Regions from separate parts of the Homo sapiens genome. Here all the other regions are linked to region 3. Evidence: promoter capture Hi-C in 16 types of primary human blood cells and fetal thymus (Javierre and others, 2016). All regions are on one chromosome and are shown on one strand. The core of a region is centred on a gene start or on the middle of the fragment in contact, and the rest is flanking DNA. Distances in the headings are between cores, read along the strand shown. Region 1 overlaps CFAP70 (cilia and flagella associated protein 70). Region 2 holds the start of LOC124902577 (small nucleolar RNA U13). Region 3 holds the start of SYNPO2L-AS1 (SYNPO2L antisense RNA 1). Region 4 overlaps ANXA7 (annexin A7).

Evidence for each region. Contacts are between HindIII fragments. The CHiCAGO score rates a contact against its expected background, and 5 or more counts as called.
Region 1: a contact is called between a fragment that was not itself captured here and the fragment with the promoter of SYNPO2L-AS1 in region 3, in 4 of 17 cell types (endothelial precursors, erythroblasts, M2 macrophages and 1 more). The highest score is 8.1, in endothelial precursors.
Region 2: a contact is called between a fragment that was not itself captured here and the fragment with the promoter of SYNPO2L-AS1 in region 3, in 2 of 17 cell types (endothelial precursors and erythroblasts). The highest score is 5.9, in endothelial precursors.
Region 4: a contact is called between a fragment that was not itself captured here and the fragment with the promoter of SYNPO2L-AS1 in region 3, in 1 of 17 cell types (endothelial precursors). The highest score is 5.4, in endothelial precursors.

Annotation. Positions count from the first base shown.
Region 1 is chr10:73,270,013-73,272,712 of GRCh38, reverse strand. The region is part of intron 25 of CFAP70 (cilia and flagella associated protein 70); the gene reads left to right. All of the region lies in intron 2 of DNAJC9-AS1 (DNAJC9 and MRPS16 antisense RNA 1), which reads right to left. Among named protein-coding and RNA genes, the nearest start is that of MRPS16, 19 kb to the right of the region's middle. The HindIII fragment of the contact is 2,329 bases long and covers 196-2,524 here.
Region 2 is chr10:73,299,274-73,301,973 of GRCh38, reverse strand. It overlaps CFAP70 (cilia and flagella associated protein 70), which reads left to right. Exons shown (of 28, transcript NM_001367801.1): 14 at 2,309-2,369. It overlaps LOC124902577 (small nucleolar RNA U13), which reads left to right and starts at 90; the gene lies at 90-193. The HindIII fragment of the contact is 2,325 bases long and covers 161-2,485 here.
Region 3 is chr10:73,652,783-73,655,482 of GRCh38, reverse strand. It overlaps SYNPO2L-AS1 (SYNPO2L antisense RNA 1), which reads right to left and starts at 1,444. Exons shown (of 3, transcript NR_187519.1): 1 at 1,177-1,444. It overlaps SYNPO2L (synaptopodin 2 like), which reads left to right. Exons shown (of 4, transcript NM_001114133.3): 2 at 1,203-1,354; 3 at 1,830-2,344. The HindIII fragment of the contact is 5,539 bases long and covers 594-2,700 here.
Region 4 is chr10:73,384,155-73,386,854 of GRCh38, reverse strand. All of the region lies in intron 7 of ANXA7 (annexin A7), which reads left to right. Among named protein-coding and RNA genes, the nearest start is that of CFAP70, 27 kb to the right of the region's middle. The HindIII fragment of the contact is 650 bases long and covers 1,106-1,755 here.

The sequences.
Region 1 (2,700 bases), core at 111-2,610, 380 kb after region 3:
GAACCAAGAAGCTACATAATAAAAAAAATTCATGTTATTTGGTATAGACACTCCTTTGTGATATTATCTGTAAGAAAAAGGTGATATGGGAGATGAAGAATCTATTCAAGTCAATTAAAGAAATTGATTGACACTTACTAAGCACTGTGACCCTTTGATATGCAGGAGGAGTTGCTGTAACTTCTGGCAGAAGCTTTTGCTCTGCTTCTCCTAAAAACTCTTTACTTAACCTTCCCTCATTTCCTCCAGTCTTCAAAGAGGCAAACATCCTCTTGTTCCTGCCTAATTTCTTCAGGCATATTATTGACTCCATGTCTCTCCCTTTCTTTGAATAGCTTACTCACTTATTTATTTATTTATTTATTTATTTGAGATGGAGTCTCGCTCTGTCTCCCAGGCTAGAGTGCAGTGGTGCAGTGGTGTCACCTCAGCTCACTGCAACCTCTGCCTCCTGGGTTCAAGTGATCCTCCTGCCTCAGCCTCCTGAGTAGCTGGGATTACAGGTGCCCACCACCATGCCAGGCTAATTTTTGTATTTTTAGTAGAGATGGGGTTTCACCATATTGACCAGGCTGGTTTTGAACTCCTGACCTCAAGTGATCCACCCCAAAGTGCAGGGATTACAGGTGTGAGCCACCTCACTTAGCCCCTCATTGCTGTTTTTCAGCCATAAAGATAATATGTGTTCATTATAGAAACTTTAGAAGAAGCCAGGAGCAGTGGCTCACACCTGTAATTCCAGCACTTTGGGAGGCTGAGGCTGAAGGATCTCTTGAACCTAGGAGTTTGAGAGAAACCAACCTGGGCAACAGAGCAAGACCCCCATCTCTACAAAAACATTAAAAATTAACCAGGCATGGTGGCATGTGCCTGTAGTCCCAGATACTTGGAAGGCTAAGGTGGGAGGATTGCTTGGTGGGAACACAGAAGTTAGAGGCTGCAGTGAGCCATGATTGTGCCACTGCACTCCAGGCTGGGTGACAGAGCAAAACCTCACCTCTAAAAATAAATAGACAAATAGATACAAAATATGAAGAAAACATTAAAGTATCCGTAACTCCACAAGTTGGTGATAACCACTGTTAACATTTGAATGTACTTTCCTCCCGTCTTTTTTCATATATATGAAAGCAATTTTAATGTATAAAATGTAAATATTTACTGCTTTGTAACCTTTTTTCGACTTAACAGTATAGTATTGGTATCTTCTTATAGCTCTGTCACCCAAGCTGGAGTGCAGTGGCGCCATCTTGGCTCACTGCAACCTCTGCCTCCTGGGTTCAAGTGATTCTCCTGCCTCAGCCTCCTGAATAGCTGGGATTACAGGCATGTGCCACCACACCCAGCTAATTTTTGTGTTTTTAGTAGTCACAGGATTTCGCCATGTTGGCCAGGCTGGTCTCAAACTCCTGTCCTCAGGTGATCCTCCCACCTCGGCCTCCCAAAGTGCTGGGATTACAGGCGTGAGCCACCGCACCCGGCCTGTGTTTTGTTTTTCACACATCTGTCAGTGAGCCCTTTGAGGGCAGATATTGTATTTTATTTATTTACTTGAGACAGGATCTTGCTCTGTCACCCAGGCTGGTGTACAGTGGCTCAATCTCAGCTCATTGCAATCCCTGCCTCCGGGGCTCGGTTGATCCTCCTGCGTCAGCCTCCTGAGTACCTGGGACTACGGGATTTTATTTTTTTACTCCCAGCATCTAGCATACTGCCTGACACAGAGCAAATCCTTGGCAAATGTAGGTTGATTAAATAATGAATCAATGTCTCAGAGACTTCAAAGTGTGGGCCAAAGTATGGGTGTGGGTGAAAGGCCATCTCTTGTCTTTGGCCTAGAAACCCATTATTTAATTATTTTAAAGCAGAAAAAGTAGGCTGGACACAGGTGGTTCATGCCTGTAATCCCAGCACTTTGGGAGGCCAAGGTGGGCAGATCACTTGAGGCCAGGAGTTTGAGACCAGTCTGGCCAATGTGGTGAAACCCCGTCTGTACTAAAAATACAAAAATTAGCTGGGTGTGGTGGTGGGCACCTGTAATTCTAGCTACTTGGGAGGCTGAGGCAAGAGAATCGATTAAACCTGGGAGGCGGAGGTTGCAGTGAGCTGAAATCATGCCATTGCACTCCAGCCTGGGCAGTACAGCGAGACTCTGTCGAAGAGAAGGGAAGGGGAGGGGAGGGGAGGGGGAGGGGAGGGGAGGGGAAGGGAAGGGAAGGAAAAGAAAAGGAAAAGAAAAGAGAAAAGAAAAGGGTGGCTGGGGAGGGGAGGGGAGAGGAGAGAGGAGAGGAGAGGAAAGAAAAGAGAAAAGAAAAGAAAAAAGAAAGGAAAAAAAGAGCTACTTTACTGGGGAAGGGAGAGCCTTTTGGAATGTTTTACAAAGCAACAAAGCAAACTCACAGTTTTAGGAAGCAGCAACAATTTCCACGTGCCCAGAGCCCAGAGTGCACCCTAGAGTTTCTGAATACTGCATTGATTGCTCGGGATTGGGCTGTTAATAACTGATACTAGGGGAAAGAAAGCTTTCTGGACAATAGTATTTCAACAGGCAAATCAGATTTTTACCTCAAGAAAAGGATGCACAATGTAAAGAAAAAAAACTATAAATGTATCTGACAGCCCACTGTGTGTGGAGAAATCACTGAATGATGCACACATGAGAGTGAGTTCCTGTGGATTTCCAACCTTGCACCTGAAACT
Region 2 (2,700 bases), core at 74-2,573, 350 kb after region 3:
TTTCGAGATATTATTCACATACCATATACTTCTCTACCACCATCACCTTTTCTTTCATTTTGTTCACCCATTTAAAGTATCCAGTTCTGATCCCTTTGTAGTTCATAAGCGTGATGATTGGGTGTTCATGCTCATACATGAGCTGTGCCTCCCTCAAGCTTTGTTGTGACATCATCATATTACCTGTCCGATGTGAACTTAGAAAAATAAAAATAAAATAAAGTGTACAATTCAGTGGCTTTTAGTATACTCACAGAATTGTGTAGCCATTCCATAGTCAACTTTATATATACTATCATTACCCCAAAAGTTGAAATCCCATGTACATTAGCAGTCATTCTCCTTTTCCTCTCAACCATCATGCCACCTCTTCCACCCTGAACCCCCAAGTCTAAGCAGCCGTTTATCTACTTTTTTTCTCTATAGATTTGCCAACTCTGGAATCATACAATATGTGGTGACTGGCTTCTTTCATTTAATCTAATGTTGTTAAGGTTTATTCATATTGTGGCATATATCAATACTTAATTTCTTTATTACCAAATAATATTTCATTGTCAAAACAGGAGCAAAAGACAGAGAGAGCAGGGAGGGAGTTGGGGGAGGTGCCACACATTTTTAAATGACCAGATCTTGCAAGCACTTACTCACTATCATGAAGACAGCACCAAGCCATGAGGCATCCACCTCCATGACCCAGACACTTCCCACCAGGCCCCACTTCCAACACTGGGGATTATAATTCAACATGAGATTTGGATGGGGACAAATATCCAAACTATGTCAGTTGCTTCCTCACTTCCCTCAGGTCTTTACTCAAACGTTAACATCTCAGCGAGGCCTTCCTGGTGAAATATGCTCCTGCATTCCACTACCCTCAACCCCCAATAGAGTCTGTCTGCCTTCCTGCATTATTTTTCTCTATGGGACATATTACTAGCATATTTATCTTGTTTGTTTATCTTATTTATTGTCTTTCTTTCCCTACTAGAATGTAAGCTCCATGAGGGTAAGAATTTTTGTCTATTTTGTTTAATGCTCTATTCCCAAACCTAGAAAACTACCTGATGGAAAATAAGCACTCAGTATCTATTTTTATTTTTTTATTTTTTGGGAGACAGAGTCTTGCCCTGTGGCCCAGGCTGGAATGCAGTGGTGCGATCTCAGCTCACTGCACCTCTGCCTCCCAGGTTCAAGAAATTCATGTCTCAGCCTCCTGAGTAGCTGGAACTATAGGCACACACCACTACACCCAGCTAATTTTTTTCATTTTAGTAGAGACAGGATTTCACTATGTTTCTCAGGCTGGTCTCGAACTCCTAAGCTCAGGCAATCCACCCGCCTCGGCCTCTCGAAGTGCTAGGATTACAGGCATGAGCCACCATGGCTGGCCTCTCAGTATCTATTTTGAATGAATGAATAACATTGTCTCTGGAGAGGAAACTAGGAGGCTGGGCAATAAGGTTGGAAGGAGATATTTTGCTATACAGTTTCGTACCTTCTAAATTTTGAATAATATAAATAGATTACCTATTTAAATAAATAGAATTAAAATTAGTAATTATGAACAGAGGTATATCATTACATAGGATCTAGTAAGAAAAATAGATTTTGTGAGTTTGATTGTGGACTTCAAGGTAGTATAATATATTTAGCAAGAACCTGAAACTAAAAGGGAGAAGAGCTATAACTTAATTCCTTCTAGGTTCTTGTAAGGGCTTCTGAAAATAGAAGGTAGAGGTTTTGACATAAGTAGTTTGACATTGACAAAATGTGGTTTTTTACTCACATTTTGGATTAAGTTTTGATAGCATTATTGTAATTTAATGCAGCCCTATAAATTATGCCAAGAGTACACTTTTATTGTAGACGGGGAGGAAAGAAGAGGTTTTGCTTGCCTATTCCACTCAGATTTCCAAATCATTCTGCTTTCAGAGATGTTACTGAGTGCCTCTAAAATGTTGACACCCATTTCTTTCCAAAACCCCAGTCAAACAGCCCTTGTATACCACAAGTTTTTAAATACGTAAGGGTAAAGCCAGGGCTCAAATTAACCAAAAATACAACTTAGATACTCCCTGAGTAGCTGCTTCCTCACCTCCCTTCTGTATGGTCCGTAGCCATATACTTTGCTGTGGTTCACATCTAGGGTTTTACATGAGAGAACAGCACAGTGCTCAAGTGCAGTGGGGGAACAGACCTCAGATCTCCCCCACCCAGACACTTTGAGGATAAGATAAAAGAAAATATACATCTGTAGATAATAAATTTTTTTTTGTTTTTTTATTTTTTTTCTTTCCTGATACAGGGTCAAGGAAATGATTCCTCCAAGGCCTCCTCTTACCCGTCGGACAGGAGGAGCTCAGAAGGCAAGTGCCAAAGCCAAGTTGAAATGATAAGTAATAAGATATTGAGTGCATGCACTTGTTAATTGCATGGACTCTTTAATATGTCTTCCAGAAGGGGTGAAAACTTGTTTGAAGCTTTACGTATTTTCATTGCTGGTTCCATTTGTGATCAATGGCATATAGCATACAGTGTTTAATCTTTGGCTGGTGGTCTCTCAGCTGGGAAGAAAAGGGCATTTTACATTTAAAGTATTACTGGGTGTGGTGGCACACACCTGTAGTCTCAGCTACTAGGGAGGCTGAGGCAGGAGGGTTGCTTGAGGCCAGGAGTTCAAGGGAGAAGTGAGCCATG
Region 3 (2,700 bases), core at 195-2,694:
CCAGAAATACGGGGAAGGTTCTAATTTCTCTCTGACTAAACTGATATGTGATGAACTGAAACTGCCTCGAACAGCCTAGCCCAGCCCAGCCCTACCCTGCCTCACCCTGCCCTGCCCATGCCTTCAGTGCTCTTTCCCTAGGTCAGATCCTTTCTCTCACTAGGCAAGACTTTTTTAGGTGCTAGGAGGGTTATGGCAAGATCTGGCCTCACAGATGAAGTCATTATCCTTTTGGTTTCACCCTACAGGCTTAGTTTTCCGAACTGTAAAATGTGGGTAATAATAGTACCTGTACCTACTTCATGGAACCATTCTAAGGATTAAATGCAATAATACATGTAGCACAGTGCCCAACACTTAGTAAGAACTCAATAAATGGTAGCCACTACTACTATTATTACTTTGGCATATATACATTTGTGTGTATACATGGCACACATATACCCAAATAATCACAATCTCCCAGAATACCGCTGGACTCCCTCCAACCTGGAGTACTGTTCTAAAATCTTGACTGTGTAATGGCGCCTGGGGTTACAAGGCCTAGTAGAGAATTACCAGCCAATATAGATATTGCCCTTGGAGAAAAAGCTTGTGGAGATAATCACCATTTCTTTCCGTTTTTTTTCTTTTCTTTTTTTTTGCGACAGAGTCTTACTCTGTTGCCCAGGCTGGAGTGCAGTGACATGATGGCTCACTGCAACCTCTGCTTCCTGGGTTCAAGCAATTCTCCTGCCTCAGCCTCCCAAGTATCTGGGATTACAGGCGCACACCACCACGGCCAGCTGATTTTTGTACTTTTAGTAGAGACAGCGTTTCACCCATTGGCCAGGCTGGTCTCAAACTCCTGATCTCAAGTGATCCACCCACCTAGGCCTCCCAAAGCACTGGGCTTACAGGCGTGAGCCACTGCACCCAGCCAATAACCACCATTTCTAGTTACCTACCCCATGCAGTTCTTCCCAAGCCTCTTTCATTCAATGGTTACCCTATTTCCCACCATATGATGTATTTCTTTCTCCAGTCTGTATACTTTCTTCCCTCTAGACAGGCCACTTCAACTGCAGCCACTTCCATGCATCTCCCCACCCTTCTTACCCTGCAAAGTAAAATCCCCTCCTGTGGGTCCTTCCCATCTTTTCCTTTCATTCTATTCCCTTTGGAGCCCCCTCTTACCTACAGTGTCTCCTTCAACATCTCAGATTCGAAGACGGAGCCAGGCTGGCAGAGCAGGACTCCGAGAGAGGGACCAGCTCTTGGCAATCAATGGGGTCTCTTGCACCAACCTCTCCCATGCCAGTGCCATGAGCCTCATCGATGCCTCAGGAAATCAGCTTGTCCTCACTGTGCAGCGGTATGGACCTCTCTCCTCTTCTCTTCCCCTAATCCAGGGCTCCCATTGCCTGTCTCAGCTCTATGTCTCACTGGCCTGGCTTTAGCAACTAACAGGTACCTATTTCTGCTCGTGCGTTTCTGCTGGAGTGCAGATGGTTTGTGTCTGCCTCCCAGAGGGCTTGAATGTATCTGCAATTAAGGGATGGGGATGTCAGTGGGTATTTGACTGATGAGCCTACTTCAACCCCTGGCCTGTTTCCTCCTCATTACATCTTCCTCTAAGCCTATTTCCACTCACAGCCCTTCAAGCACATTTGCCTCCCAGTTTGTCTTCATATCTCCACTCTTCCCGGCCCACCCATTCCAACTGTATGACAGCCTTCTCTCTCCCTTACCTCTTCCCTCCCCCTTACCTCTTCCCTCCATCCCTTCCAGATCTCTCTAGCTGTCAGTACCCAGCCCATCTCTCAAGCTCTGTCATCTTTCCTATCCAGGTTAGCAGACGAGGGTCCTGTGCAATCTCCATCTCCCCATGAGCTTCAGGTGCTGTCACCCTTATCTCCACTAAGTCCTGAGCCCCCTGGTGCTCCAGTTCCTCAGCCTCTTCAGCCTGGGAGCCTTCGTTCACCTCCTGATAGTGAGGCTTACTACGGAGAGACTGACAGTGATGCTGATGGCCCTGCCACCCAGGAGAAGCCCCGTCGACCTCGCCGCCGAGGCCCCACAAGGCCCACCCCTCCGGGTGCCCCACCTGATGAGGTCTACCTGTCTGACAGCCCTGCAGAGCCAGCACCTACTATCCCTGGCCCTCCCAGCCAGGGTGACAGCCGTGTGAGCTCCCCGTCTTGGGAGGATGGGGCAGCCCTTCAGCCACCCCCAGCTGAGGCTCTGCTGTTACCCCATGGCCCCCTCCGACCTGGTCCTCATCTCATCCCTATGGTGGGGCCTGTTCCCCACCCAGTGGCAGAAGATCTTACTACCACCTACACCCAGAAGGCCAAGCAAGCCAGTGAGTGCCTGAACCCCTTTTCCCCAGCCAGGATCCTTCAATCTGAGCCTTAAATCCAGCCTTCTATAGCCGTACATTCTCCCTACCTTGGGACCCTTGGATACAGTCTTGGGGACAGGAGGGGTAATGAGTAGAAGGGGAGCATAATTATTCTCATGGCCACCATTATTTTTGCTGTTTGAACCAATGTGGCAAAAGGGTAAGGTGATTCAGTTCAACCCAGGAACAGGGTAAGTAGGGAAATTGGAAAGGGACACAAATAGATGAAGGGTTTGGTGGTGGTGATAATTGTTATTGTGTGTCATGATTGGGTGAAAGCAGAGTACAGACACAGGACAGGGGAGTATTTAAAAGCA
Region 4 (2,700 bases), core at 181-2,680, 270 kb after region 3:
AACGATGACAACAAATTATATTAGCTGGGCGTGGTGGCGTGTGTCCATAGTCCCAGCTGCTTGGGAGGCTGAGGTAGAAAGATTGCTTGAGCCCAGGAAGTCAGGCTGTTAGTGAGCTGTGATTGTGTTACTGCACTGTAGCCTAGGTGACAGAACAAGACGCTGTCTCAAAAAAAAATAATATGGAAATGCTTGCCATTCTCTGTACACGCCATGATCTTTTATGCTTCTGTGTTGTGTACATGCCATTCTCCTGGCCTTGAATACCTTTTCTTTTTTTCATGGCAAACTTCTTTAAGATTTGGCTTAAATATCAGCTACTCTGAAGTTTCTTTCATTAGTCTGGACAGAATTTAGCTGCTTCTTAATACTGTAGTCCCATAGCACTTTGTAAAACCTCTGTTATTACTAATCTCACGGCCCACCCCCAAAAACTGAGCTCCCATAGGACAAACCATGGTCATAGTCATCTTTGTATTACAGTACCAAGTATATAATGGCAAGTAGCCACTTAGTACTTGTTGAATGGATGATCAGTTTCTAAATCCAACAAGATTCTATGGCTAAAAAATGCCATTGTTCCTCAGATGTAATGGGAAAACATGGATAGCACTGCTTTGCTTTTTTTTTTTTTTTTTTTACTTTTTTTTGAGACAGAGTCTCAAAAGGCTGGAGTGCAGTGGCATGATCTCCGCTCACTGCAGCCTCCACTTTCCAGGCAAGAGCGATTTTCGTGCCTCAGCCTCTCGAGTAGCTGGAATTATAGGTGTCTGCCACCACACCCAGCTAATTTTTGTACTTTTAGTAGAGACGGGATTTTGCCATGTTAGCAAGTGTGGTCTCAAACTCTTGGCCTCATGTGATCTGCCTGCCTTGGCCTCCCAAAGTGCTGGGATTACAGGCATGAGCCACCACGCCTGACCTGCTTTGCCATTTAGATAGGAATCCTAAAAATATCCTAATGTTCTCTGCATCTAGTTTATATTTCTCAGAATGGGGTAGTGGTCCATTGATTGGTCCCACCTTGCTTATTCTATTTTGCCTTTCCCTGTCTGCCCAGCCCAGTGACTGATTATGCAACACAAACCCTAGATCTCCTTAAGCTTCAACATCAGACTCACTATTCTCACAAAGATATTTTCCATGTTATGAATTTTTTATCTAGTCTGCACAATGCTGTCTCAAGTTTTTTTATATATTGCTTTAGAATTAAAACTAACAATCTAATTTCCGTACCACTAGCCACCTCTTTTCTTAACTTCCTAATTAGTAAAACACTGTTTTTCTAGCCTGCTATAGTCATCTTTGAGTCCATGTTTTTCTTTTATCATAGGGAGTATTCTGTATGCTTTGTCCTAGCAGTTGGTTATTTACTAGTTTTTATTGATCTAATCTATAAAATGGCCCTTTAAAATGTTTCTTTTGTCTACTTTGTTCCTTCTCATTTCCATTGTTACCATTCAAGTCCAAGACTTTATTACCTCTTAACTAAATATTCCAGTAGCCTAAATGTTTTCATCTATAGCTTCTTTGTCACCATCATCCATTCTGAATATTGTTGCTACATCAGTGCCATTTTCTTGCATGAAAAGTTTCCAGTGGTTCCTCCCAGCAAACAGAATCAAGTCCATATTCTTTAGCTTGGCATTCAGTGTAATAATCCAAGATTTAGTTACAACTTTGTTTTAACTCATCTATTATGAAAACCTTCCTCTGTAGCAAAACCGGTTGTCTTATTGTTCCATTGAACAAGCTTTGCTCATTCTTGGCTCTATACGAGTAATTCTCAACCTTAACTGAACATCGTAATTTCCTTTAAAACTTAAAAATACACAGAATCTCTGAGTCTTAGTCCTGGACATCAATGTTTTTCTTTTTTTTTTTAAAGCTCCACAATGAATGTAATGAAGAGTCAAGGCTGGGAACCCCTTCTCTGTTCCTTGGTGGTGTTCCTTCTTACCTGAAATACCTTTCTCCTTCGTCTTTGCATGCTAATTTTTACATTTTTCTCTGAGCTCTCCAGCTGACTTTGAACTTTTTCTGTTTCAACTTTCTCTATTACTTATTTCTATGCTACTTACCCAGTGCTAGAGTACAGGTTACCTTACATTATTTTTTTTTTAGATGTGTATCTTTCCAAATAAGAACAATATCGGCTGGGCACAGTGGTTCATGTGTGTAATGCCAGCACTTCGGGAGGCCAAGGCGGGTGTATCACTTGGGGTCAGGCATTCAAGACCAGCCTGGCCAACATGTGAAACCCCATCTCTACTAAAAATACAAAAATTAGCCTGGCGTGGTGGGATGTGCCTGTAGTCCCAGCTACTCAGGGGGCTGAGGAAGGAGAAGCGCTTGAACCCAGGAGGCAGAGGTTGCAGTTAGCCGAGATCACACCACTGCATTCCAGCCTGGGCCACAGAGCGAGACTCTGTCTCAAAAAAAATAACAACAAAAAACAAATAAGAACAAGATGATAATGGTTTCTACTTCCTCATAGAACCAAGAACAGTTCCTTTTACTAAGTAAATATCTGTTTATCATTTTGTCAGTTTGAATAATTCTTTGTTTCATATATCCCTTGTTTTTGTACCTGGTAGAGTGGAATAAGATTTTATTAAATGTTTATTGATAGAATGAATAAAATAGATCTGCTTGAGTGTAATAAATGTGTAAGTGTAACAGACTTTAAATTTATTTACT